Regions from separate parts of the Homo sapiens genome. Here regions 1, 2, 4, 5 and 6 are each linked to region 3. The links are contacts of gene promoters, found by promoter capture Hi-C in blood cells and fetal thymus (Javierre and others, 2016). All regions are on one chromosome and are shown on one strand. Each heading gives the region's core, a stretch centred on a gene start or on the middle of the fragment in contact. The rest is flanking DNA. Distances are from core to core; before and after follow the strand shown. Region 1 holds the start of FYCO1 (FYVE and coiled-coil domain autophagy adaptor 1). Region 2 overlaps XCR1 (X-C motif chemokine receptor 1). Region 3 holds the start of CCR1 (C-C motif chemokine receptor 1). Region 4 overlaps CCR5AS (CCR5 antisense RNA). Region 5 overlaps FYCO1 (FYVE and coiled-coil domain autophagy adaptor 1). Region 6 overlaps FYCO1 (FYVE and coiled-coil domain autophagy adaptor 1).

Evidence for each region. Contacts are between HindIII fragments. The CHiCAGO score rates a contact against its expected background, and 5 or more counts as called.
Region 1: the fragment with the promoter of FYCO1 here is called in contact with the fragment with the promoter of CCR1 in region 3 in 3 of 17 cell types (neutrophils, monocytes and total CD8 T cells); the score reaches 16.8 in neutrophils.
Region 2: a fragment that was not itself captured here is called in contact with the fragment with the promoter of CCR1 in region 3 in 1 of 17 cell types (monocytes); the score reaches 6.0 in monocytes.
Region 4: a fragment that was not itself captured here is called in contact with the fragment with the promoter of CCR1 in region 3 in 5 of 17 cell types (M1 macrophages, M0 macrophages, megakaryocytes and 2 more); the score reaches 11.2 in M1 macrophages.
Region 5: a fragment that was not itself captured here is called in contact with the fragment with the promoter of CCR1 in region 3 in 2 of 17 cell types (neutrophils and naive B cells); the score reaches 6.7 in neutrophils.
Region 6: a fragment that was not itself captured here is called in contact with the fragment with the promoter of CCR1 in region 3 in 1 of 17 cell types (neutrophils); the score reaches 8.4 in neutrophils.

What each region holds. Positions count from the first base shown.
Region 1 is chr3:45,993,532-45,998,386 of GRCh38, forward strand. It overlaps FYCO1 (FYVE and coiled-coil domain autophagy adaptor 1), which reads right to left and starts at 2,293. Exons shown (of 18, transcript NM_024513.4): 1 at 2,191-2,293. LOC105377063 (a long non-coding RNA gene) reads left to right here and starts at 2,372. Exons shown (of 3, transcript XR_940799.3): 1 at 2,372-2,558. RefSeq lists enhancers at 1-46, 2,092-2,591, 2,092-2,141, 2,162-2,321. The HindIII fragment of the contact is 2,332 bases long and covers 1,699-4,030 here.
Region 2 is chr3:46,013,040-46,017,566 of GRCh38, forward strand. XCR1 (X-C motif chemokine receptor 1) reads right to left here. Exons shown (of 2, transcript NM_001024644.2): 2 at 3,968-4,527. Among named protein-coding and RNA genes, the nearest start is that of XCR1, 12 kb to the right of the region's middle. The HindIII fragment of the contact is 1,438 bases long and covers 2,557-3,994 here.
Region 3 is chr3:46,206,237-46,211,029 of GRCh38, forward strand. It overlaps CCR1 (C-C motif chemokine receptor 1), which reads right to left and starts at 2,077. Exons shown (of 2, transcript NM_001295.3): 1 at 2,046-2,077. It also overlaps a transcript of CCR3 not described here. The HindIII fragment of the contact is 1,401 bases long and covers 1,804-3,204 here.
Region 4 is chr3:46,380,586-46,384,954 of GRCh38, forward strand. All of the region lies in intron 2 of CCR5AS (CCR5 antisense RNA), which reads right to left. Among named protein-coding and RNA genes, the nearest start is that of CCR5, 12 kb to the left of the region's middle. RefSeq lists an enhancer at 1-143. The HindIII fragment of the contact is 1,305 bases long and covers 1,502-2,806 here.
Region 5 is chr3:45,959,893-45,964,706 of GRCh38, forward strand. FYCO1 (FYVE and coiled-coil domain autophagy adaptor 1) reads right to left here. Exons shown (of 18, transcript NM_024513.4): 10 at 4,444-4,562; 11 at 2,333-2,500. Among named protein-coding and RNA genes, the nearest start is that of CXCR6, 19 kb to the left of the region's middle. RefSeq lists an enhancer at 2,066-2,255. The HindIII fragment of the contact is 2,061 bases long and covers 2,116-4,176 here.
Region 6 is chr3:45,975,983-45,980,652 of GRCh38, forward strand. FYCO1 (FYVE and coiled-coil domain autophagy adaptor 1) reads right to left here. Exons shown (of 18, transcript NM_024513.4): 4 at 3,723-3,848. Among named protein-coding and RNA genes, the nearest start is that of FYCO1, 18 kb to the right of the region's middle. The HindIII fragment of the contact is 5,743 bases long and covers 293-4,670 here.

The sequences.
Region 1 (4,855 bases), core at 1,043-3,542, 210 kb before region 3:
ACTTCTTATTTTCTTGAAACTGGCATTGAGCTCACAAACAAAATACTGTTTATCTTTTGACTAAGACAAGAACATAGCAGTCATGACGTGAGCAGATGTTGCCCTGACCATAATGGACTCATCTGTGCTCACAAGTTGCCTCTGTAATCACAGGCACCAGTTAATGACCCTTACCTGCTGCCTAGGGCTGCTTGCAGTGAACGTGGTTCCTAAATCTAGGTGCCTACCAGTGATTTCCACCATAAGACCACAGCTAGACAACACACTTCCTCTGCCTCATGTTTAAAGACATTCTAGTCTTGAGTCACCAAAGCTGTGTCTTTGGAATCTTCAGTAAACAAAAGTTACCTATCAGCTAAACATCTCCCCTAAAGGGAAGCAGGGTGGGTGGGGGTGAGGGGGCTGCCATTTCTTGCGTACCTACTTTGTATTCTTGAGTCAGCAGTCCATAGCCTTGGTGACCAATATGGGTCAAAGCTACCAGCTGCTCTGATCTTGCTCTGTTATGGGTGATTCCTCTCATCACAAACATCTATGGGGGCCATCCCCCTCAAAAAGGACCAGGTTAAAAACTTGGCTCCTGAAATTATACTGGTGCTCCAAACCCAGCCCCAAGGGGCAAAGGTCATCGGAACAACAGCTAAAGGATCACTGCCTGAGACTGTTACCAATCTCTAAAGTAACTGCAAAAAAAAAAAAAAATCAAAGTAAAATATTAAGAATTGAGTATACGGATATTCACCATACAATCCTTTCAGTGATTCTGTATGTTTATTTTTCTAATAAAATATTAAAAACAATTTAAAAAGTAAATGAAGTGCTACACAAAGATAGTCACTTTGAACATAAACAGATAAACTCTATTTCCTAAAGCAAGAGCCTTTAGGAGAGATCCTATTAATCAAAGGAGGCTGAGATCCATCACTGTGACAATTAGCTCTTATTTTCAGGGTGATAATAACCACGGTGCACAACTAGTATGGGGCATTCAATGCTTTCAGAACAGTGGTTGTCACAGAAGGGAGGGTCAAGTGGAGCTCACTCAACAGGGGTCCACTTCAGAAGGTGGGAACTACTGAAAGCAGAAAACCTTGGCATGATAGCTCCAGCTCCCCACCCCTCCCCCACACCAGCCCCCAACACCCTCCAGCCGCATTAGGCAGATGGCAGGGGAATTAAGCTTGCAGCCTGAGACCACAAGGCCTGCACGGGCAGGAGAACCAGTGAGCAGATTAAGCCCTGGATCCTCTGCCCCGCAAAAGCCCCTGACCCATTTCTCTGTCGGGAAAGGAAACTGCTGTGGTAAGACAAGCAGAGGGGCTGAGAGGCTCTGGCCAACACAGGCAGTTTCAACAAGTGTTCTATTTTTTTTTCTGGAGAGGACACCCAATGGGAACAGTGAAGAGTGACAGGGACATCAGAGAATACATGTGCTTTAACAGGGGGCCACGCGGTTAACGTGTCAACCACATGTGCTTTTCTTACAAAAAATAAAATCCCGCCATCCTCCCCCCTCCCCGCCCCACCCCCGCCAGGTTTCAACAGCACGGACTCCAGTCCAGTGCAGTGCCGCCACACCAGAGACAACAGGTGTTTCGGGAAAAGACCCCTGGGGGCTAGCTCGAGACCCTGCGCATGGGCACAAGGGGCAGTGGATAGTGAATAGGTCTTGGCCAAAGGATGGGCCAGGAAGAAAGAAGCTTCTTCCCCTCCTGGGAAGAGGGCAGAGATCCGAGCACCAGCGGAGTCTTGCAAAGTGAAGGTCTGGGCTGTCCCGGCCCAACTGGGCCAGAGACTAAACTTCCTAAAGACCACGCAGGCAGGAACTCCGGGGCCTGCCCCATCCTGCGCTAAGACATTCAGGCTTGTTCTGAGACGCCGCATGGTGGGCTCCTTTCCTTTGCGGGCCCTCCGCCCTCCGGGGTCTTGGAACTGGTGTTTGGGGTCTGTCTTTCTAACCGACCAACAGAGGCAGGCTGGGTGCCTGGGCCGGCTTCCACCTGCCCGAGGTGCTTCCCGGCCCGCTGGGCAAGGACGGGGGCGCTCGGGCAGGGTCTGAGGGAGACCTGGGATGGGCGGGGACTGTAAGGGCAACAGGTGACAAGCCGCGCCCCGAGCGAAGCTCTCGCCTCAGGGATCGTGAGCGACCCAGGTGCCCCCAGAGTCCAGCCGGTCTTCCGCGGCACTTACGCGCTCGTGGGTCCACCGCCGGGCAGAACCGAAACTTTCTGGGGCCAAGCGGAAGAGGACGGGAACGCGGTGCTGACGGCCATGACGCGCACACCAAGAGGGTGGCGGGGGCGGACTACAACTCCCGGCGTGCTCCCCGGGGCTGAGGCCTGCAACTCCCATCGGACTCCCGGGGCTCCGACTACAACTCCCGGCGACTCCGCAGGGCGGGGTTTAAGTGCTCCCACCGCCCAGTCCCCGGACCGACTGTCCCACCCGCGACCCATGCTGGCCCCAGGTTAACGCCTGCAACCCCGGAGGGCCACAAATCAAAGGTCTGGCATCTTGACAACAACGCTGTTCTTGTGTGGCTAAGGAGCACTCCAAAGGTAGCTAGTTCGAGTTGAATCGTGCACGTGCTGTAAGTGTGAAATACACCTAGGTACCAAAGAGTCCGAAGAATGTTAACTAGCTCATTAATTTTTAGTGATTGCATGTTAAAATGATAATATTTTGATATATTGGGAAATAGAAAAACATGTATTGGTGGGCCTAATTTCCCATCTTTTAATCCCCCTTATTTCTTAATATCAGGGTCTTACTTAAAATTAGTGCTCAAAAACTACGTGTTTATGAACTACCACCCCTAACTTTGGCCCCATCCTCAGCCCAACTTCTATTTATAAGATGGGTGTTGCAAAGCACTGTGGAACTGAATACGATAGAACAAAATGCATTCAATCAGTGTCCGCTATGGGCACAGTAGAAAAGAGGAACACTACACGGGGACTTTGGCTTCTAACTGACTGCATTCCTTAGCTGTGGCTGGCTATCCTTTACTCTCTGCCCTAGTTCTCATCATTTAAGCCAGAAACAGCTCTCTCCCTTGTAGGACCTAGCTCGTGGTATCCAGTCAGGAACCGTGGTGGCCCAACATTCTAAACTGAGGAAGCAGGGTGTTGTCTGGGTACAATAATACAGAAAGAAAATCAATTTCTTAGTCGATTTTAGGCTATGACATCTCATTAGCCATCTAATTTTATAAATTAGATGTAGCTAAAACAGTGAGTTGGATGGATGGAGTAGTCAGTTTGGGGGTGGGGTTGGGAGGAGGTACATGAATAGAAGTGATTTCCACTCTTGTTAACAGAAAGGAGAACAGAAAGAAAACGGGGGGAGTGAGAAGATGACAAAGAGAAAAGTAATCAATGTAGTGGTCTAAGAGAAATCATTGCTCCAACCACTGTCTGAACAGCTTCATGCAATATTAAGGATGAGAGAGATTTTAATGTTGGTCATCTGGTCCAATATCCTTGTTTGAAACTGTGTGGGGAAAAAAAAACCTCCCTCAAACCGTATTTTTCCTCTACTCTTACACAACAGCAATCATCAACACAGGAGAATAATTTGGTGACCAGATGTGTGTGGGGTTTTCCCCACACACTGAGCAGTGGACCGCACCTGGGTGTCCTCCAATTCAATTCCGACACTATCTACCTGGAGTATCAGATCCCACAAGTGGAGGGCTCAGTCCCCAAGACTGCCTCCTCACCTTTAAACACCAGTTGTAAGTCTAGGCCTCCAGAATTTTGGAATGACTGGCTTCAAGTTGAGTTCCCACGACACCCTCTTTGGGTTCAGCTAATTTGCTAAAGTGGTTCATAGAACTCAGAGAAACACATTTACTGGTCTATTATAAAGGATACTGCAATGGATGCAGATAAAGAGACACGTAGGATGAGGTGTGGAGGAAGGGGCGTGGGGCTTCCATGCCTTCCCTGGATGCACCACTCTTCAGTAACCTCCACGTGTTCAGCTATCCCGAAGCTCCCCGAATCCAGTCCTCTTGGGCTTTTATGGAAGCTTCGTGATGTCAGCATTGCTTCCCCCAGGGTATAGGGGAGGACCCTCTCTTGGGAGGGTCTTAAGACCTATAATCAGAAAGGCGGGGGAAGCGGCTGGGCACGGTGGCTCACGCCTGTAATCCCAGCTCACGCCTTGGGAGGCCGAGGTGGGCGGATCACCTGAGGTCGGGAGTTTGAGACCAGCCTGACCAACATGGAGAAACCCCATCTCTATTAAAAATACAAAATTAGCCGGGCGTGGTGGCACATGCCTATAATCCCAGCTTCTAGGGAGGCTGAGGCAGGAGAATCGCTTGAACCCGGGAGGCGGAGGTTGCGGTGAGCCAAGATCGAGCCATTGCACTCCAGCCTGGGCAACAAGAGCAAAACTCCATCTTAAAGAAAAAAAAAAAGAAAGAAAGGCGGGGGAAGATTAGAGTCCTGCCTTAAAGCAGGTGAAAGGAGGGCAGAAGGCCAGAGAGATTCGGTTTCCTGAAGCCTAACATACCTAACATAACAAAAGACTGTAACAAGGGCTATGGGAGTTATGAGCCAGGAACCATGGAAGAAAACCAAGATAGATAGATAGATAGATAGATAGATAGATAGATAGATAGATAGATAGACAGACAGATAGACAGACATCATAATACCACAGAAACTTAAACCCAAAAGGAGTTTGAAAAGAAAAGGAAAACAAACCTAATATTTATTGAGGACCTATATGCCAGTCCCTAGCCCCCCAGCAAAAAAACAAAAAACAACAACAAAAACCCATTCAGCATTATATTTAAAACTTGCAGCCACTTGGTGACATAATTAGTATTCATTATCATACTTTG
Region 2 (4,527 bases), core at 2,026-4,525, 190 kb before region 3:
ATAAAGGAAATCAACTCCATCTAAGACATGAGAAGAAATTGAAAAACCTCTTTGGAAAAACTCAGCTTTGCTACCAAGAAATAACCTTTAAGTAAATGGCTGGTAGGAAGGAAATTCTCAATAGTACTATTGTAGAAAATTGAGCCCGCCATTTTCCAAGTGCTTCACTGTCTCTTGAGTAGTTCTGTTGATGTGGGCAGGGAGCAGTACTGCTGATGGGAGCAATTTGGGGTGGGGTTTGATCGTATCACTTGTCAAAGGCTTATCCTAAAATGTTTTTGGTGTGCCCAGTGGTGTCACACCTCTGACCTCCTATCTTAGTGGCTTAGACTGTAAGCCACTGGCTTTCTCTACTGGCAGAGCAGTAGAAAACCTCAGTAACCTTTTTCACACTTGTGGTGGCCATTAGCTGATCCTGTGGCTGAACTCTCCCTGCTTGGGGGGATTCCTCACCACGAGTCTTGGTGGGAGGCAGAGCCCACTTCTGTAGGAGATAAGGAAGCCTGGGCGCTCTTTCCCAGCTCCCTTGAGGCCAGAGTGTGGGTGTGTGGCCTTGGCTCACTCTGTGAGCCTCGTGTACCTGTTTTTTGTAATGCAGGTGGGAGAAGTCTTTCTAGAGTCACTGTAACCTCTGGCTCCTGCGGTTGTTGTGCCAGAGACCACCTCCCTTTGTTCTAGCTGTTTCTCCTGCCTTCCCACCAGTTTTGTGAGCTACCCAGCAGCTTTTCTCTTTCTTTGAGTATAACCTCTTCTATATGTCATTTCTCTCCAATTTTAATGTATAATTACACACATTTTTCTTTTTTTAATTTTTTGCCGAATCATTTGTGATGTAGTTGCAGACATCATGACACTGTACCCTGCCGCATCTCTGATGCAATTACAATGAAATCACATGCAGTATCTTTTCCACACATTTTCTTCTGCCGTGGCAACTAGAGGCAATTTCTGTTGCTTATGGTTAAGAGTCCTGATGGGCATATCATTTGGGAAATTGGCAAGATGTGATGGAAAGAGTAGGTGTTTGGGTACAATACAGACCTGAGTTTGGCTTTAACTTAAGAAAGTCATTTATCTCTCCAAGCCCCCCTTTTCTCATCTGGGTAGTGACAATGCCTACCTTGTAAAATTGTGAGAATGTGGCATAATGTGTGCAAGGGATATAGCACAGTTTCTAGCACCCAGTAGTTGCTCAATAAATATTCATTGAGTGAATGATTGAATAAATAAAGACACTAGATCAGTGATTGTCAAACATGGCTGTACATTAGAACCACCAGGAGACTTTAAAAACATCCTGAGGCCAGGTTGCACCCTAGAACAATTGCATCAGAACCTTTGGGGTAGAAACTCAGACATTAGTGTTTTTTTTGTTTGCTTGTTTTTGTTTTTTGAGACAGAGTCTTGCTCTGTTGCCAGGCTGTAGTGCAGTGGCGCAATCTCAGCTCATTGCAACCTCCGCCTCAGCCTCCCGAGTAGCTGGGACTACAGGCGTGCACCACCACGCCCAATTAATTTTTGTATTTTTAGTAGAGACGGGGTTTCACCATGTTGACCAGGATGGTCTCGATCTCTTGACTTCATGATCTACCTGCCTCGGCCTCCCAAAGTGCTGGGATTACAGGCATGAGCCACTGCGCCCGGCCAACATTAGTATTTTTTAAGCTCCGCGTGTGATCTGACATGTAGCCTTGGATGTTGGAGTGTGACCTATTCTGGTCCCTTGTATCCTCCTTAGTCAAACTGGAGAAAACAGAAACCTCGTAAGGTAGCTGTGAGACGTGAAAATGTATGGACCTAATACATAGTAGGTCTCAGTAAACACTAGCTTCCAATCTCCTCTGCATGTCTTCAGTTAGGTGTAGCCTTCTGTGTAGGTGCAGGAGACACTGGAACATCATGGAAGGTTTGGAGGTGCACTGGGATTCCGCTCCCACACACTGAAATTTGTGTCCTGTATTAATTTGCTCCGGCTGCCATTAACCAAGTTCCATGACTGGGTGGCTCGAACGAGAGAAATATACTGTCTCACAGTTCTGGAGACTGGAAGTCTGAGATCTAGGTGTCAGGTTCATTCCTTCTGGGGCTGTAAGGGAGAATCTGCTCCATGCCTTTCTCCTTGCTTCTGGTCGCTTGCTGGCAGTCTTTGGTGTTTTTTGGCTTGTGGCAGCATAACTCTAGTCTTCACATGACATTCTCCTGTGTCTGTGCCCAAATTTACCCTTTTTGCAAGGACACCAGCCATATTGAATTATAAACTCACCTTACCTCAGCATAATCTCATTTTATATGATCTGCAATAATCCTATTTCCAAATAAGGTCATATTCAGGGAGACTGTGGGTTATTCAGGGAGACTGTGGGTTAGGAGTTGAACATATGAATCTGGGGGCAGAGGATGACACAATTCAACCTGTAACCTGCCCTAAGCTACAGATTTGTATCCCCTGAAGAACTTCATCAAAATGTAAGCCATGAAATTTTAGACCTATAGACTTTGTTTTTAAGCATAAGAATAGATCTGAGTGCAAACCTCTCTAGTTAAGATGAAGAAATAAGCTTCAAAGGAGGGGAAGTGACTTGCTAAAGACCCAGCCAGAAAAGTGGGCCTGATTTGTATTTTTTTCTCTAATTTTGAAGTAAACAGAAGATTCTTTGATAAATTAGCAGGGCCCAGTGGTTCTTCCTCCCCCACCCCCGCCCCCCAATTTAACCTTACTATTGGGAAACTGTATATTGGCATATCGTTGAACCAATTGCAACCAAAGTTGAGGGTGGGAGCAGGTAAAGGTGGGTACCTCCTACCCCACATTCCCACAGTTCATTGCAAAGTGCCTTGGAAGAGCTTTAATAATACATTTAAAGTGAGCATCCCCAGTTGTGTGGACAATAAGCCAGGTCATTTTCTTTCAGTCAAGAGAGGTCAGCAAGGTGGTCTGGGAAAAGGAACAGGAATTTCTTGGGCCTGGAGTAATCCTATGGGAACTTTTCTTCAAATGGGTATGACTAGAGGGTGGCCAACTTGAGAGTGGGGCCAATTCATCTTTGTGGTCTCACTCTCCACAACATGGGCTTTGCTCTGCTCTTGCATTGGGAAAATACTCCAAAAAAGTAGCCAGGGGTTGCCTGGAGGTTTGCATGCCATTGTCTCACACCCTTCTCTCCCTTCTCACTCCTGCAACCATCCAACTGTCCAGTTCTTCTTTCTAACCATGAATGATGCTCAACGCTGATTTTCTGACATGGTCAAAGTCAAGGAACCAGGCTTCCTTTGTTTTTCTTTGGTCCCTCTGGTCTCACTTCCTTTTGTGGAGGGGCCAGTGGACATGTCGGGGGACGGTTGCAGCAACCCCACATCTATGATCTGGGCTGGCCTTAAGGTAGAGAGCAAAGCTCTGTGCTCAGAATAAGTTGGTGAAGAGTTAGGATAATCCCTCTTACCCTTCCCAATCTTCCCTGAAACCCCCAAGTATCTCCCACCAAGTTTTCAGCATGCCTGAAATTTCCAGCCAATAATAGTATCATACCTTCTGATTGTAGGACTGTATTTCTGAACGGTCCCTGTTCAGACCCAAATATTTTATAATACAGAAAATAAAAGCCTTGGACTTGGAGACAGAAGACTTGGGTGTCAAGCCAGGGGAGAAATGGGGATAGGAAATTGAGTCACAGAGCATTCAAGATAGACTTGGTCTCCTGGACAATTTCACCTAAGGTCTAAATTGAGCCAGTTTCCCACCACCCTGACTCACACAGGCCTTTTTCCACACTTTGTTCTCCAATCCTGAATCCCTAACCCAGATCTTCCATAAGTAGAAGACTTTTAAGAACCTATATGCTCTTGGTAGAAATGAGGGGACATAATCAATGCTATGGGCTGAGTGTTTGCCACTCAGTTTATGGTATTTGTCATAGCAGCCCGAACTGACTAAGACAGCCAGCCAAAGGTAAGACAATACATGCTAATCTTTTACTTGTGCATATTAACACAGTGAAGCTTTCTTGTTTAATGAAATGATGCATAATAATTCATACTTATCTGGGACAGAATGATCAACAAAGCAAGTAGTTTTACATACATGACCTTATGCACAGCCTCATAGTGTGGATGAGTCTGTTATTGGCTTCTCTACAGTTTATAGGTGAGGAAACTGAGCCTTGAGAGGCCCAAGGTCACAGTGGGAAAGAGCTTGGATTTGGAGTTTAGGTCCAGGGCTCAAATGTCATTCGACTCCACAGACAGTTTACTTTGGACATCTTTAGACCAGGTTTCCATGTTTGCAGACCTTTTTGTCCCATCACAGGCATTTGCATAAATGAAACCTGTGAAAAGTTCAACAAAGCTTAATTCCAAACAAAAAAGATGATGTTTAGGCCGGTGGGCCCCAGACAAGTTCACAAGAAGCTCATGGGGTGAGTACCTGGTGTTGACCAGAAGATGAGATGTAGGCAAGTATAGTAAGAGAAAACAGAGGTAGAAAAAAGGCCAAAAGATGGTCTCCTGTTAACTCACTCAACCAACCACAAA
Region 3 (4,793 bases), core at 827-3,326:
AGGCACATGGAGGGTATAGGGCACCCTGGCTGGAAAGGGAGATACTCTATTAGGGTGAGAAGTGAGGAGCTTTAATTTTTTATCAAACCCATCCCCTGGCCCACTCCTCCATCTCCAGAGAGATCCAATCAGCCCTCTTTCTGGAGAGAGTCAGGCTAACGGTCACTAACAAAGCTGTGTTGGCAGTTTCTAATTTCTGCAGCCACAGCCATTGCTGATGAGGGCAGACAGTTCGGTTTGATAGTCAGCACTTTTCGGTGGGCTGGCAGGTTAACAGTGGAAGTATGCAAATAGCTTGGAAAGCACAAAGAGCAGCTAGTGCAAGCCTGATCCCATGAGTCCAGTTTCTGGGAAGGTTTGGCAAAGGCAAAGGCAAGTTGAGTCAACATTGTCAGGTGGCATTTTAAACCGAGTCACCTCCATACACCCCCTACCTCCAACCCATTTGTTATTTCCCCAACTTGTTAAGCCCCAGGCAACCACTCCAAGGCATGCTGTTCCTAAAGGGAGGTGATCTGGGGTGGGGCCCGAGAAGAGAAACCAAAGGACCATGTTGTCATCTAATCTGCCAGCCCTGCTGTAGTCTACTGCAGAAGTCTGCCTCAAGGCCACTGCACAGTGGTCAGCTATAGCCCTGGATCCTGGACCCTCCACTGCTAGTGTCCTCCAGCCTGGGAGTTGGTGAAGTCTCTGAGCAGAGATAGAGCAGTCTGTGATGGTGAAAGACACCCAGGCCTATGGTGCGCTGGCTGGCTTATACTGGTTTATAAATGCCAATTGCGTGCATCTCTTCCCCACTCCACATTCAGCATGTTGGTAGCTTGAAACTGACCACAGTGGGGGCATTTATACCATGAAAATCAACAAATGTTATAAAGCAGGGATCTTTTCTTCAGAAGAGTCAGTTGTTGAACATTTACCAGCACATCACTGCCCAGGCCCCACATTCTGAACAGTCCAGCACTGTCCCACTGCTCGGTGCGGGAACTAAAGGATCAGTGAGTGGCACATAGCCTGGTGCCAGGTTGTGCAAACTTTTGGGAGTTTCCATCTCTTCTTTGAAATCTGGGACCCACCAAGACCACCTATGAAGTAGATACCTATACGGAGCCACCATGCCCCTCTATCTTCAGAACAAAATCCTGACCTGTGTCTTTGTTAGTAGAGCAGAACAGATGCCCCCCAAGATCACCTGGCCAGCTCCTTGCCTTTGGGTGAGTGAAAGCCTACCTCTTCCAAAGATAGCAGTGCCAATTTTGAGGATCCTTGGTTCTAGTCTTCTTAAGAGATAGGTTCAGTATCAAATCATCCTTGCATCTGCCAAGATTTTTCTAGCTAATATTTCCCTCTTGCTATAATTTCTTCATACACCATGTTTGGTTTTCCTTTACATGGGGGAATTTGGCAAGCAATTTTTTTTTTTTTTTCAGACAGACTCTTGCTCTGTCGCCAGGCTGGAGTGTAGTGGTGCAATCTCAGCTCACTGCAACCTCCACCTCCCGGATTCGAGTGATTCTCCTGCCTCAGCCTCTTGAGTAGCTGGGACTACAGGCATGCGCCACCATGCCCGGCTAATTTTTATTTTTAGTAGAGACAGGGTTTCACCATATGGCCAGGATTGTCTCCATCTCTTGACCTCATGATCCACCTGCCTCGGTCTCCCAAAGTGCTGGGATTACAGCCGTGAGCCACTGCGCCCCGCCAAGTAATTTCTTATTGAATAGGTTTCCACAGAAAACACCTTTTGTCCCTTAGTACTGACTGACTTTCTTAATCAGTAACCAAAAGCCAATCCTTCAAGTAAGCTTCCTTTTTAGCAAAAAAGCCTATATTTCATCTGAGCACCCAGCTTTATAAATCCACCATTCTCAGTATTGCTACAGTATTAATTGCCTTGGAGATGCATCCATGGGCTACTTAGACATTTGCCCAGCCTACTCAAAGAATTCCCCCTACCTTTGAGGAGCCCCTAGCTGCATGCATGTCTTTGAACAACACTGCCCTCCACAGTAACAGATAAGACAGAAAAGACAAGTGACACTTACTCTGGTTCCAAGGGACTTTGTCCGTGAAGTCTTTGTTTCTGGGGCTTTCTGGGTTTTTATGAATTCAAGTTTCAAGATCCTGACCAAGTAGGAAGTACTCAGCTTCCTGTGTGATGATGGAGAATTGGCTCCAGTTTCACAGTCTTTCAAAATGACAAGAAAGGGACAAAGTTCTTCTTTTTGTGTGGTTTGGTGCTCATGAATGGCCACAACGCCCACCAGTGGCCACTTCCTGGAAGCCAAGTTAACTGCGAGGATTTTCTCTGCTCACTCTGAGCCTCTTGAGTCTTGGCCCTGGGAGCTCAGCCTTAAGGGAATTGGGGGCAGGTGAAGCTGAGTTGGGTGAGGTGGGTGGCAGTGAGATGTTCCCAGAATGTTTGGAGCAATTGAAGTGTGGGATGTGTGTATGTGGGATGGGGGCAGGGCATAGAGCTCTTGTGGTCAGCGGCAGACTTCTTTTTTTTCTTCTTCTTAAAGATTGTGAATGGAAGGATTTAAACTGGAACCCTGAGTCCTGTTCCTCAAAACTAACTGACATGGGTGCTCACAGAGGCAGCAGCTTCTCTTTGGCACCCTATGCCCCTCGGCTTCTGGGAGCTCATTGTCCCTCTGCTCTCTGCTCCCCAAGTCCCTCCCCACCAAACCTCAGAGAGTGGCTTTGCCCCAGGAACCTCCAGCATGAAGGGAATATAGGTCTGTTGGTTACATTTTGACCTTCCCTTTCTGATGCCCCATTCCTGTTTTACGTGATGGTCAAACATGGGCCAAGTTCAAATCCCAGCTCTCCACCTGTGACATGGGCAGATCACTCACCTTTCTAAGTCTTGGTTCCTACTCTGCTAAATGGGAGTATTGAATGCTTACCTCAGAGGAGAAGCACGAAGTCAACTTGTACATGAAAAATGTCAGAGTGCCTGGCACAGTGAAAAATGTCTGACAAATGATGAGTACTGTGACTCTCCTCACAACTGCCAACACCTACTCTGCCTCTGCCCTTGTGTCTTCTATAAAGTGGGGACACCCCTAACCTTCCTCACGGCATTGCTACAAAGCACTGTTTCAGAAATCATCAGTGTGAATGTGCTTTGAAAAGATCACTTGTCTCTTCATGGTTCAGTTTTCTTATCTGTAAAATGAAGAATTCAGACAAGATGGCCTAAGCTTGACATCTGATCATCACTCAGCTTCACCCCAAAGAAATAAATGGGGGTCTGCATGTGCCTGGCTATTTGCAGTACTTTGCTGGTGGATCAGTTTCCAAAGAGAACAGAGGCTTGTGAGGCCTGCCTTTTCCTTGATCCTGTCTAAAGTAAGGGACATGGTCAGTACCTCATCCTTGACCAGGCTTCCAGCTCTGCTCTAGGTTTCATTCCACAGAGGGGATGTACCAGGCAAATCTGCTTGTTCATTGAACAAATATTTATTCAGTACTCACAATGTGCCGGACATTGTGTTAGGTGCTTGGGATATAGTGGTGAAGAAAGAGGCTGGATCCATTCTTTGAGAGCTTATAGCTTAGGAAGGATCACAAACAATTAACCAAGTTACCACAATGAGGAACAGCTTTTGTAGTGGCCTGGGAAATACCCTGGGCTAAGGAAGGGTGCATCGAGGGTGGGAAGGGGTGAGGAAGTCCTTTAGAGCAGTGGTTCTCAAAGTGAGGTCCCTGGACCAGCAGCATTCACATTCCCTGGGACATTGCTAGCCATGCAAGTTCTGGGGTTACATGCCAGATATACTGACTCAGAAATCCTGGGGATGCGGCCAAGCAATCCAGGTTTTGACAAAGACTGGCATGATTCTGATGCATGCTTAAATTTGGGGGGCATGGATCTAGATTTTCTCAATGCTTTTGGCTCAGAGTCCCATGTGATCTTTCTTCAGAAGAGTTAGGCTGGACCAGCTATGAGCTAGGAAGCCTTCTTTCTCTCTTTAGCTCAAGGCCTAAACAAGAGGCTGCTCAGTTGCCTGCTCTGTCTCCCCTCCCACACCCACACTCAGGTCTCCTATGGCCTTGCAAACCCCTTAGTGCACACACCCCTCTCACCACAGCAGATGTGTACAATGGGGGCAGCACAGAGAGACAAGAGAGAAACCAGCAAAGAGGGATGACCTTGCTCCATTCATTTCTCTTAAAAGCCCTTTGACTCCTCTCCTTAAAAGCTGTAGTGTTCTCTCAAGGTTGCCGTATTGTCCTTGATCCACATCAATGTTCCTCTTCCTTGGAGAGAAGGGGGAGATGTGGGCAGCTTCCTTTGCCCCAGAGAGGTTGCAGTGGAAGCCCAGCACTAAGCCAAACCCTGTCCTGAGACAGCCTTCCACCCCAGCCTTGGCACCAATGTTCAGGGAAGAGATGCAGGGGACCCTGCCAGTGGTGGATGTGGATGACTCTGTCTTTAACACCTGCAGAGCTCATGGACCCTGGCCGTCATCAGGTTCAACCTCATATTCAACTGCTGGGCCTTGTCTTCTGGCCACACACTCTCTCCAAATCAGCGATGGTGGGGAACTGAGGAGCCAGAGGCCATTGTGGAAGAACTCCAAGAAAACAATCTCCAGGTTATCACATCTAAAGCCTGAGCAAGATTTGAGGCTGGGAAGAGGTGGATCCCAGAATTGGAAGAAGGTAGGTGAAACCAGTGTTGCCTCCGCTATGTTAGAGTCACATGGAAGCTTGAAGGACAATTGACTCCTAGGCCCACCCCCAGATATTCTGATGTACTTGGTCTAGGGTGCAGCCTGGGCATT
Region 4 (4,369 bases), core at 904-3,403, 170 kb after region 3:
TGGGTCTGGAGTGGGCTCCAACAGCGGCATGTTTTGATGGTGCTTCCCAGTGGCACGCCAGCGATGAGCCTTTGAGTAGGGAAAGTAGGAGCACTCGTGACTCCCTTCACGATCAGCACCTGTGTGCTAATAAATTCACAAAAGCCAACATATTGGAGTCACTCAGGGAGTTTTACAAATAGTGAGGTTAAATCCAACCTCAAATAGTTCTGATTCGATCTGCCTGCATTGCTGCCCTGTGGTTCCCCACTGTAGAAGCTCCCCAGGTGATTCTAAGTGTAGCCAAGTCTGAGAAATACTGCCTAAAGCCTGTTGGACTGACAGCAAGGGCTGTTGTCTGAGCAAGACTTTGCCTGGCCTGGGGTGGCATGTGCACCAGGAAGAGTCTCAACTTTCATAACAGAACATTCCCCAAGCTGGTTTTTTTAAAGCATGTGAATCTAGACTTCATTGGCAATACCAAAGATCTGTATTTGAGGCTCCAAGTATTTCACTTTCATTTTTGGTTTTGGGTTATGTTTTCACCCTTCCTTTCCAAGTGAAAAGTAAACAGAAGTGGGATGTCTGGCGCCCATGCTGAGCTTGGCAACTTCAAATTCAATAGAGAAGAAGTCTCTTGTATAGAAAAGGGCCTGTCTGAGATGTTTCTCAAATAAATATAGATTTTGCTTATGTGGCTAAAGGATTCTTCTCCCCCCATTTCCTTATCCCTGCAGTGAGCCATCCTTCTTAACTCTTTCCATGAAAGCATTATTCCTGAAGAACTGGGAACTCATGCCAGCCCTGATCAGGCAATGATAATTCTGCAGAGAATTAGAATTTAGATTTAAATTGTCAACTCTTATACATCCTGGCATATGGTTTAAACACATGTACACACACACAAACACCTCCTACTATTTACTGAAGAGCAGATATCTGATAACTTAATCTTTTTGGTTTTGAGTCAAGACAATTCCTCCTTTTGAAACTGCATACCGCTGAATATAATAAAATGTAATTAAGATTAAAAATAAGAAACTAATGGGAGAATTTCAATATTGTCTATGTTCACTTTAAAATTCCTCTACTTAGGTTTACTGCCATTACCAAAGACTATTCAAAAATCCTTTTTAGGAGAATCCTAATGGTTTCCTGACATATAATCAAATAAGGACTCTGTTGATTGGCTAACTCAATCTTCCTGTGCCAAAAAGCAGAGCCCAGCAGAGAAGAGGGCAGGGACTTGAAAGTCAGACTGACTCGAGTTCCAGCCTTGGGGCTGTGGGAGCTTGGGCAAGTGACTTAACGTCTCTGGCTCTCAGGATCTAAAAGGATTTCCAGTAGTAATTTGGGGTGTTACTGATACAGGAGCTAAAAAGAAATTATTTAGGTGGTTAGTGAGGGTCAGAGAGTCCTCGGTAAGATTTGCCTTTTAACAAAAAGCAGCCCCAAAATCATTTGTTTGCTAACAAAGAGAAGCCTGTAAAATTGAGCTGCAGACATAGATAAGCAAGCTGGAAGCTTGCACGGGTGAATGCCGGCAGCTGTGCCAATAGGAAAAGGCTATCTGGGGGCCAGGCATGTTCAACATGGATTCTCCATCTTCCCTTTTCTTTGTCAACCAAGTGTACAGTAAAGGAACAGGCAACATGGCACGGGCCAGGTAGAGAACCCTTCTGCATAATAAAAGATTAGGGTGAGATGGCCAGCTTCTTCCCGTGCTATGTAAATGGCATACCTGGTCCAACCAGTCTTTTGGGCCCTGTGTAAATCAGACACCGCCTCCTCAAGTTAGTCTATAAAACCCCATGCATTTTACCGTGAAACTGGGAGATCCACTCGGAACCCCCTCCTGCACGAGAGACCTTTTCTCTTTTGCCTATTACACTTCCGCTCTTAAACTCACTGCTCATGTGTTAGCATCCTTGATTTCCTTGGCATGAGGCAACGAACCTTGTGTATTACCCCATACAAATGATGCTGCTTCATTACTAATAGCAACCTGACAGGGTTGTGTTGGGGTATAAATTATCTAGACCAGGGAGATCCAATATAATTTTTTTGTAATGACGGGAATGCTTTGTATCTGCATCATCCAAAATGGTAGCCACCAGGCCAGGGTGAAATGTGGCCAGTGTGACTGAGGAACTGAATGTTTTCCATGATTTAATTTAAATGTGGCCAATGGCTACTGTAGGAGACAGTGTGAGTCTGGCATATTATAAATAATAAATATTAATATAATTTGAACTTTGGCATCAGTGTTTCCTAGATTTGAATTACTATGCAAGTTGCTTACTGTTTCCAAGCCTCAGCTTTCTAATCTGTAATTGGGGCTAATAATAGTATCTGCCTTACAGGTTTGTTCAGAGGATAAATGAGAAATTGCATGTTGAGGGCTTAACACAGTGCCTGGCACATAAAAGCTCTGGTAACAGTTAGCCACTTTAATAATTTGCTAATAATGGCTATTTCTTCTTCAGATTAGGATGTGCTCCCCCAAACAGTGCACTTAGACATAGCGGGCAATCCAGCTCACTCTCTGCAGTGAGAGAGAAGCACTGGCCGACCAGAGTCAGCCAGGGGCTCATGGGTATGAAATCAACAGCATGATTTTGTAAGTAATGGATGGAAAGGGCCTCACAACTTTATGGCACTGTGTTCAATTTGCTTGGTCTTCTGTAGCTCCTTTTGAAAGCCTTTTAGGGTGGATTAACCTGCTACCAATAATTCTGGTCAGATGTAGACTCCATAGCTCAAAGCAAACTGAGAGAGTGAGGGCAGCAGGCCAATTCCCCACCCCTTCCTTCTGGACTCTGACAGAAGCTTACACTCAAGGAAGAGCAAGTAGGAATTAACGTGTTAAGAGCTAGGTAAGCAAAACCCAATGAGAAGTTCTGGCAAAGCCCCATGGGCAGGGGTGGCTTAGGCACAGGAAACAAGTAGGATTTCATACCACGCGCCTCAGTCTACTTCCGGGGCCCTCATCCTCAGCTGTGCCTATGCAAAGGAGAGCAACCAATAAACCCCACCGCCACTCTCCTACTGTGGAGGCCAGGGATGGCCAGGGGTAAGAGAGGGATGGGAAGTGTTTCCTCCAGCCGTCCTCTGAGAAGGAGAGGAAACTGGGCAGAGCTTCTGTCCTCCTTCAAGCAGAAACAGAAACAAAAGAAACCCCTAAGGGGGTTCTTACTTCCCCTCTAGTTCAGTTGTGCACTAACCATCTGCAGCTCAACATTCAGCATTCATTCATTGATTCAGCAAACATTGAAGGAGGGCCAGCTATGTGCCAGATGCCAACTCATGCCATGAAAGAGAGTCCCTGTCCTTATGAAATTCACTATTTAGAGAGAAAAGCAAGCAAAAAGGCAAAGTTTGAAAAGTACTGTTGAAGTGGCATCATTGTCTGGGGTGAATACCTGAGGTTTGTGGTCTCACGCCAAGGGAATCAAGGACTCAGGCACACAAGAAGTGAGTTTAAGAGCAGAGGTTTAATAGGCAAAAGAAAGAGAAAAAAGAATAGCTCTCTTGCCTGCACAGAGAGAGGGGCACCTGAGTGGATCTTCCTGTTTTGTGGTGAAATGCAAGGCATTTTATAGACGAGCTTGAGGAAGTGGTGTCTGATTTACTTAGGACCCGAGAGATTGGTCAGACCAGGTGTGATGTTTACATAGCATACAAAGAAGCTGGCCATCCCATCCTAATCTTTTATTACGCAGACGGGGTCTATACCTGGCTGGTGCCATGTTGTCTGTTCCTTACTGTACACGTGGTTGACAAAGAAAAGGGAAGATGAAGAATCCATGTTGAACATGCCTGGCCCCCAGATAGTCTTTTCCTATTGGCACAGCTGCCGGCATTCACTCTTGCAAGCTTCCAGATTGCTTATCTATGTCTGCAGCCCAATTTTACAGGTTGCTCTTTGCTAGAAAAGAAATGATTTGGGGGCTGCTTTTCATTAAAAGGAAAACCTTACCAAGGTTAAAAAGAAAAAAATTTCTTTTTAATGCCTATGTTACTGTGAACAGTGTCGGGATAAGGCTCTGAGAGCCAGATGAGGATGAGTTATCCAATCCAAGGATGGGGGTCTGGAGGAAAAAATCCTAGAGAGCATTGCTGCAGTTGAATAAGGATTAGTTAGAAGCTACTGAGTGGAGCATAGGAGTAGGAACTCTTATGCAAATGTGCAGAGGTGAAATAAAGCAAGGTATAGTCCAGGTGCCTAAAGTAGCACAGCTGACTTGAGATAGATGATAGATAGGTAGATAGATGGATAGGGTACATAGATGATAGATAGATAGATAGATAGATAGATAGATAGATAGATAGATAGATAGATAGATAGACAGACAGACAGACACTGGTGTGAGTGTGGGTGTGTGTGTCT
Region 5 (4,814 bases), core at 1,896-4,395, 250 kb before region 3:
GCGTGCAGTAAGCCCAAGGACCATGAATGTACTTCCCACCTGAATCTTAATGTGCTTGGGGCCCTTTATGTTTCTATGGTTGATCCAAGTAACAATTAATCAGTGGAGAAGATCAAAGATTTCCTAGTGTGAAAATCTGATCAGATGTTAGCCTCCTCTGCCCCTCAGAGAGATGGTAAGGTCACTCCAAGAAGCCAGACTCAAAGAAGTGTGAGGCTTTCCAGAAAGGTCTGGCAGTGTCAGAATGTGCCTGATGCACTGGAGGGGGAGGATGTGAACAGAGGCTTCCTCAGGGATACTAATGAGCATGTTCAGGCTTGATGGTTTCTGACATGTGAAGTTTAGTTCTTTCTCGTATGGAGCCCCAGCTAGCATCCTCAGGGCTAACGTGGCTCTAGCAGCACCTCAGCCACCGGTAATGTGACACCCGAGCCACTCAGGTCCTGAGAGAGACAGGCTCCATCACTGACCAGGAACTCCCAATCAACCCCAGATCTTTTGCCTTAAATAAAAAAGCTTGAACATGGGCTTGGCTGGCTTTTTCAAGGACACTTGAAATTGTCAGGAAGCAGGAAGACTCATTCTCTGAAGCAGCCTCATTCTCTAGGCTGGTCCACCCAAACTTTGGGAATGTGGAATGCTGCCAGGAGCTGGTGTTTTCCATCACACCCCTCAGGTCACAAATACCCTGAGTTCTAACTCTGTATATTGATGATAAGAAGGCAGAGTTTTTAAACTTTCAAATTGGTTATAATTTTAATATCACTGTTTTCTAACACTTAATGAATTAGCATATCTAGGCTTTGCTGATCCATGGTGCTGCTAACATCACAAAAACAGGGCTAATCAGATTGTATGTGCCTCTTGAAGGAAAGACCCCAAACTACAAACCAATTCTATGAAGGCTTCTTACCAAAATTTTGAACCTGAGTCTAAGCAAGCTGCCAGTAGAATGATGGTTCTCAGCTCTGGCTCACTGGTGTCTGAGTCTCACTCCCAGAAATTCCAATTCGGTTAGTCTTGGTGGGGCCTGGACATGGGCATTTTTAAATTACTTTCCTAGTGATTCTAATATGTAGCCAGGATTGAGAACCACTGCAATAGTTCTAACTATGGACTCACAGGAAATGCAAGGGATGGATGATCATGTTAAATGACACCATGGGGATGCAATCGGCAAAAGTAGAGAGATGATAGGGAAACCCATTGACTAAAAGGGATGTAAGAGACACAGCAATTGCAATAGATGAATCTAATTTAGATCCTGATTAGAACGACCTGAAAATATTCTAAGGCAATCGGAAAAATTTGAAACTGACTAGACACTTGATGATATTAAGAAATTATACTTCATTTTTTAAGGTGTAATAAGGACACTGTGGTTGTTTAAAATGGAGGGTTCTGGCACCAGGCATGGTGGCTCATGCCTGTACTCCCAGGACTTGGGAGGCTGAGGCAGGCAAATCATTTGGGGCCAGGAATTCAGAACCAGCCTGGCCAACATGGTGAAGCCTATTTCTACTAAAAATATAAAAATTAGCTGGGAGTGGTGGTGTGTGCCTGTAATCCCAGCTACTTGGGTGGCTGAGGCACAAGAATCGCTTGAATGCAGGAGGAAGAGGTTGCAGTGAGCCAAGATCACGCCACTGTACTCAAGCCTGGGCAACAGAGTGAGACTCTGTCTCAAAAAAAAAAAAAATTCAAAAAATAGAAAATAAAAGAGTCCTTACCTTGGAGAGGTACATATTGAAATATTTATGGATGAAATGATATGTCTGGGATTTGCTTCAAAATAATCTGGGAAGGTGGGTAAGCAGGTGGGTCTACAGATGAATCAAGACTGGCCCTGAGCTGAACACTGTTGAAGCTGGGTGACAGGTACCTGGAGGTGTATTACATGATTCCATTTTTGTATATTTGAAAATTTCCATAAGGAAAAGTTAAAATAAGTTTTGAATGACTTGTCAGCATTAAAAAATCAGGACACTTCACATTAAGATCCAGGTTTCCACCTTCTCTCAAGAAGTAAGGTGGTCTGGCAGTTCTAGGCCAAGACATATGGCAGAAGCAGAGCCCAGCTGTGTCCTCAGTTTCTCACAGTCCCCTCCTGATACAAGCTTCCACTTGTATCAGCTGCCTGGTACCTGCAGGCGCTGGAGTTTGGGACTCTAGTACTGGGGAAAGTGAGATGGAGAAGGAGAGAGGGGCTCCTGAGACAGCAGCAAGAAAGTGGGGAAATTTCTGAAGTATGCTTTCAAGAACAGCTGCATTTCTTTAGAGAAAAACCCCAGTGTGGGGAAAACCCCAGCTGCTGGTTTGACACAGCACTCACCTGAGCAGCTCTATCAGCCGCTCCTCGAGATACTTCTTGGTTCTGTTGAGGTCATCCAGGTCAGCAAGCATCTTCTGGTCATTCCTCTCACGATTTGTCACCTCCTGGCAGAGTTTGTTGTAATACTCTTGGATTTTTGTTGTGGCTTTTTCGAGTTCCTTCTGGGTCCTGGGGGAGGAGTGGTAAGTTTTCTTGATTAGCCAGGACTTCCAGCTTTCCCAGGGCTCTAAGCTCACCCAGGACTCTAATGAGGGGTGCTACTGCCCTCCGCCATGGGGGAGCCCCTTGGTATCTGCTCACAGCTTATGCAGTCCCCTAGCTTTTGAGACTCTCCTCTCACCCCCACATACAAAGGGGCATTCTGGGAGGGAAAGCAGGCTGACCCCAGGTTGCCAGAAGCACCCTAAGTGAATAGAACTCTGCACCCCTTGGCTCCTGGACAGGGGCTGGGCTTGCAAGAGAAGCCTGATAGGCAAGGCTCATGGGCTGGTGATGGGGAGGATGGGCAGGAGGAGAAAGGAGTCAGGACAGGCAGGACAGAGGTGTAGCTTCCTGGAGGTGGCCACACAGAGGAGGGCCTGTCTTCCACACGTCCTTGGGACTCTACACATGGGGCATGGCCCTGGGCCCACAGCAGGCACTCAGTCTTAATCTGCACTGCCAGCTGTTCTACCTGATAGCCCCCCTGAGGCCCAGGGAATTCCGTTTTGGGTGCTGCAGGGTGTCTCAGTCTATAGCAGAGGGAGCTGGCTGAATCTCGCTGTCTTCCTCACCCCACCCACTCCATTTTTAATGCAGCTATTTCCTAAGGCAGTGGTTTTCCAAGGATGGTCCAGTGGGACATAATAAAAGCTCCATTAAACAAAGGGTTCTGCAGAGAGACTGATTACTTTACACCTTCCACATCTAGTATAAAGTTGCCAGGAAGTTGTTTAGTAGACCCTGTCCACCAAAATGGCCTTATAGGTGCACCCACACACACAGGCAGCATATGTGTGTGCTTGCACACACACACACCACACACACACACTGAATAAAATAAGTTGGCAAATAGACTGTACAGCTTTGAGCAACTGAAACAAATGCTCTGAGATCTTACAAAAAACCACTGTTTATCATGTTTTCATGCCACCAACTCAGACTCTGTTTAAATTGTCATATGAACATGACTTAACTAAGGGCAGCCAGTGCCCTGTAGGATCTGAACACTAGAAGGGTAAGATGAAAAATGTATGTCCAGGTTACCAAATGTCAAAGATATCCTGGATCTCCTACTGAGCCAGAGCCCAGGCCTAGAAGGCAGGTGTTGGGAAGAGGTAATAGATAAATAGAAAAGTTAGAGACTTGGGACAATTTGGTGTGCTTATCTTTGCTGGTGGCACACATGCAATTCGATTCCAGCAACTCCTCCTCCCTGCTACACCTTTTTAAAATCAGGTCTTCCTCCCTGTTACATCTTTTCTTAATCAGGTCCTGGCTCAACTAGCTGTGTCCCATGACCACATGGTGGACTTAGGCTCACAACTCCACATGGCCCCAAGCCTGAAAATGAGGGGGTCAAGGAGGCCTTGGGTGGCAGCGTGATCTGCTATCCACAGATATGGCATCAGAGTCTGCACAAAGACAGGCTGATCCTGGTCCTTGGCACACTCATCTTCCTCATCCATAAAATGGGGATAGATGATAACACCTTCCTCATAGGACTGTTAGGAGGATTAAATGGGTAAATGTATGCAAAGTATTCAAAACAGAGTCGGCCACGTTTTCAGCATTATTTAAATACATGCTGCTACTATTACCATTATTATTATGATCTAACTTTTATTTCATTTTAGTTTTTCCAAAGCTTGCAGTTACTGAAGTATGATATGCACTGCCAGAGAGAAGAAAATTGAGTTAGGAGAAAGGTGCTTTAGCCGTGTATAGGTTGTGATGGGCAGGCAACCAGGTTCTCTGTGGCATGCTTCCAGCAGAAGCACTTTCTGAGTTTGTGGCTTTTCTTGCAAAAGGACTTCCTAAACCTAATATGAGTGACTGACTTTCTAAATGACGAGACCAAACACTCCTTCCCTGAAGACTACCGACAGCTACGTAGGTGGACTGTGACTAACCTTTCTAGGTCTTCACGCAGGGCAGCCCCCTCCTTGTCCTTCCTCAGCATGGCCGCCTGGCACTCTGCAAGATGGTTGCTAGTGCAGCTCAGCTTCTCTCCCATGTCTGCTTGGGTGGCCTGGCACAGGACGTCAGGGAGAAGACACTCAGCTTGCAGAAGGCCATGCAACGTACCATAAAGTGGCTGGTGTGCCATCCACCCCATCTGGCTGGGTCACTTCTAAATGGAGGGTTGTTTCCTATTAAGTTCAAGAGGCCATGAACCTCTGCTCTATATTTGTGGGGCCTCAACTGCAACTAGTTGTGGTGGTTGGCAAGTGGCAGGTACCAGAATTCCCAGGGTAACACTGAAGGTAGGGGTGGCAGGGAG
Region 6 (4,670 bases), core at 1,914-4,413, 230 kb before region 3:
GCCAACGCTTTCCTGGTTGGATTTCCTGTTCTTTATCAGATATGCCAAATCACTACATTGAATCAGAAGGAGCCCAGGGGTGAGACCAGGGGTGTCTCTAGGCAGCCCAGTCACACTGGGCTAAGGATAAAATGGATATGGGTCTGTCTCACAAGTTTGGCATGGATGGCATAGGAAGGCCCAGGTGCAGGCCTGTCTTCAAAACCTCTCCCCACAGAGCTTATACCTAAAATCCAATTCAGAGGAAGGAGATGTGACCGTAACTGTTTGAGGCTTAAATTCACCACTCAAAAGCTTGTTGTGATGGAAATGGGATATGTTGGTCAGAGACTCTGCCATGAGGCTGCAAAGCAGGGCTCTGTCAGCTGGGAGCATATAATGGCCAAGGCGGATGGAATAAAAGGGACAGCCACAGAAGACACTTGGGCAAGTTTGCAAATTAGGATTCATATTCCTGATAGGTCAGCCCAGAAACTCAAGAAAGTAGGCAGGAATTCAAAACCTCCTGACCTACCACAAGCACCTGCTCTCTCAGGCTCTGGCTCTGGGTAGGGTAAGCTGGAACCAATACCCTCCCCACCCCTTCAAAGGTCAGAAATATTTACAGTGTGTATATGTGATGGGGGAAGGGGGAGCAGTGGTTTGCCAGAGGGTTCCTATACCTCATACTATTCAAATTTTAATTCCAACACTATATTGAGTCAGGAAATATTGGCATTAAATGCCAGTGATTGAGGCTGTACCACATATTTCCTGATTCAATGGGGTAAACATCCTGGTGTATAGCACCTTTTAGCTCAGAACTATATTTCTTCTTACTGCTGACTCAAGGAAATGATACCATATGAAGTAGTTTTAAAAAACAAAAAGGTGTTAACTCTCTTTAACTACAGAAGCTGTAAGACATTTCCCCATGTATGTTTTGGGTACAGCCAGGACACCTGGAAGTGAAGGCAGGCAGCAGCCTGGTTTATTGGCTTTATAAAAACCACCATGACATGTCTGCAGATAGACGATCTCAGCAGATGCGCGGGGGAGAATCTTGATGGTATATCCTGTCTAAATCAGTTTTCCACTGACGATTGAGGTGAGAACAAAGTGTTTAGTGGTGATAACCAGGAAATTCAGGCCGTTGGAAAGAGGTGAGCAAGGCATTGTAAAGTGAAGCATGTCAATTATACAAACACACACCCTGCAGAATTTCATTAAGACCCTCACATCACAGCCCAGGTCTGTAAGCTCCCAAAGACAGGAACTTGTCCTTATTTTTGGCAAACTTACCATTATACCAGCCTTTAGAACATCAAAACTTTTTTAATGGCAAACATTTGAGGCTATACTTTTAATCAGGCCCATTAACTGAATTAAATATATATATATATATATATATATATATATATATATATATATATATATATATATATAAAGGGAACTATTTATTTTAAAAGGTATTTTTAGGGGGAAGGGAACAATAGTTCCTTTGTACTGCAAATCAAAATGCTGCATGGCCTTTTTATGTTTTGAGATTATGGATCCACTTTCATTAACTAATTCCTTAATTTTTTTTAGCTTCTAATCAGAACCCACATACACTATCCAGAGAAGCAATACAATGGCAGCAAAGGACAGGAAATCTGCAGGGTACAGGAGAGCTGATTCTGCTTTAAACCAGGTCATTGTGCCAAGAGCCCGATGCCGAGCTACACCCTCATCACAGTGAAACACAGTCCAAGCTGAGCCCATACTGAATCTCCAGAAATGGTTTCTTAGAACCTTCACCTATTTTAGCCTAAATAGCTACCGCCTACCTCAAAGGGGTCTGAGGGAACCTACAAATGCTTCTTATCCATTAACTCTTGCCCTCTCAGTTAAAGACCCAGATGGCTACTTGATTATTAAAATTAACCAAGTAACCAGCAACTCACTTAGCCTAGGGATGTTCCAAGCCATTCCAACCAATGATGCCCCAGAGAGCAGTCTTCAACAGAGATGAAACTGGACCCTATGGGAAGCAGAGCCTATGCCAGCCACTAAAACACCAACATTCATGCAAGCAAGGAATGTTTTTTGCTTCTAGAAAGTCAATTTTCATGGCTTCAGACTGTCTAAAGATCTGTTTGCATTATGAGAAAAGAAGAAGAAACTAGCCAAAAAGTAGATGTGTTTTAGCAAGCATTTCATAATCCTGGGGAATGCGGACTAAAACTAAATTTATTTCCAGACTTCAACTGTCCAAAGTCATAAAGTTAAAGGCTTTAGTTGCTCTGATGCAGCGGCTGAGGAATGAAGAGAGGAGAGTGACAAAGAGAACCTCTTCCACATTTATGATGCACTAAAATTAAAATACTGCTCTACTTCATGGACCCAAGTATCCCACCAGACCTCACAAGACTCATCCACACTAACATGGACATTAAAGAAACTCGCAGAACCAGCCCTTTAGAGCCAGGATCCTTCCTCATCGTCTCAGATGTCAGAGAGTGCAAATGGTGGGAAATGTCCAGCCATTGATGTCAGCATATCTAACACCATCATTCTCTATAAGAAGAAAGTCATTTAGCTCCAGCTGGCGTGTTTGGTGAGGAGCCCTTCCCAGAATACCTTAGGCTGTGGTATTTGTGGGCAGCCAGCCAAGCAGCAGGTGTGTTGACTTTAAACTGACTTCACACTTACTGAAAAGAAAGAAGAAATGTACAAACCTCCTGTCTCAAATCAAGGGGTTTACCTGCTCCCTGATATGCAAAGTTCTGCACTCCTGGATGGAATAGGCTGAGGAGAGAGAAGAAAGATTCTCTGGGGGTTGAGGGTGGAAAATAAACAGAAAGGAGAGTGTGAGTGTGTATGTGAAGTATGTGTGTGTGTTTGTTGTTCTGGAGTTTTTTTTTTTTTTTTGAGACGGAGTCTCGCTCTGTCGCCCAGGCTGGAGTGCAGTGGCGCGATCTCGGCTCACTGCAAGCTCCGCCTCCCGGGTTCACGCCATTCTCCTGCCTCAGCCTCCCGCGTAGCTGGGACTACAGGCGCCCGCCACCACGCCTGGCTAATTTTTTTGTGTGTTTTTTAGTAGAGACGGGGTTTCACTGTGTTAGCCAGGATGGTCTCGATCTCCTGACCTCGTGATCTGCCCGCCTCGGCCTCCCAAAGTGCTGGGATTACAGGCGTGAGCCACCGCGCCCGGCCTGTTCTGGAGTTTTGTAAAACAGCAAAGCCATGGCATTTTGCTCTTGAGGGGCGCAGAATTTAAAGTAGAAAGTTGGCACATCACTGTTTTAAGAAATGTCTCTTGAGATCCCACATCATTCTTATTTCAAATCTAAGTTTCCTGGGCAAAGTGTAGGGAAAGCAGCATAGCAAACTCTAAAGAATTTTATCTCAGAAAATGAGTTTTTTAAAAAGATGGAGTCATCCTATGCTTTACATCTCAAGGGCTGCCATTAGCAGACTACAATGTATGTGAATAGGCCACCCTGTTAAGTAACATGCGGGTTGTGGCCTAAGGTACATTCAGGACTCAGCATTCTTCCCCTTGATAAACACTCACTGAAGTGGTTTCCCCAACCTTGAGCCACTGCAACAATGGGCATTGCGTATACCTGGACTAGATTTCTTTACCACCCATAAACTCCCACTTCCTTATTTAGCTGTCTGCAGCAAAGGTCTCTGCAAGAGCTGCTTTAAGCAGGCAAAAGGACGACATGAAGTTGTTGGCTGCTTGCTCAGCTTACCTCTGAGATAGACTTGACAAAGCGGATCCCATCATTGGCTCCTTTCACCTTGGCCAGGCAGGCACAGAAGTAATCCCAGTAGTCCTTCTTGTTGCCCAGGAGGGTGGCCTTCTCTTTCTGATCAAACTGGGTAGGGAAAGGGAAAGGGAGAGGAGGTCCAAACCCACTGCTCTTCATTCCGGCATTTAAATGATAAATAATAACAATAGCTTCTTAGGTGCCAGCACTGGGTGAGGCCCTTTATTGGCATTATTTTTATTTATTGGCAAATCAAGGTGTGTTAATACCCTGTTCATACAGCTGGGTGGAAAACCACCGAAGGTGTTATTAACGGATGAGAAAGAAATACAAGAAAAGAGTCTTGGCCATGTGCGGTGGCTCACGCTGGTAATCCAGCACTTTGGGAGGCTGAGGTGGGTGGATCACCTGAGGTCAGGGGTCCAAGACCAGCCTGGCCAACATGGTGAAACCCCATCTCTACTAAAAATACAAAAATTAGCTGGGTGTGGTGGCGGGCGCCTGTGATCCCAGCTACTCAAGAGGCTGAGGCAGGAGAATCACTTGAACCCAGGAGGCAGAGGTAGCAGTGAGCCAAGGTTGCACCACTGCACTCCAGCCTGGGCAACAAGAGTGAAACTCTGTCTCAAAGAAAAAAAAAAAAAGAAAAAGAAAAGAGTCTTAAGGGCAATATGAAGAGTGTTAACTATGCTTCGACTTAGGGAAATAAGATAATGACCTTTTATCCCAGTTACTCAACACTTCAGTTTCAATATCGTTTTAATACACCTACAATAAATTTAAATAAATGTCAGCTCTGAGTCATTTCAAACCCAAAACCAAAATGGGCTTAATTGAAAAAAAGAAAGGCTCAAAAACATTTTTACAATGTTAAAGAACCAGCTGAAATGTCATGAGAGAGGCAAGCCCTTCAGCACGTTAGGGGCCTTT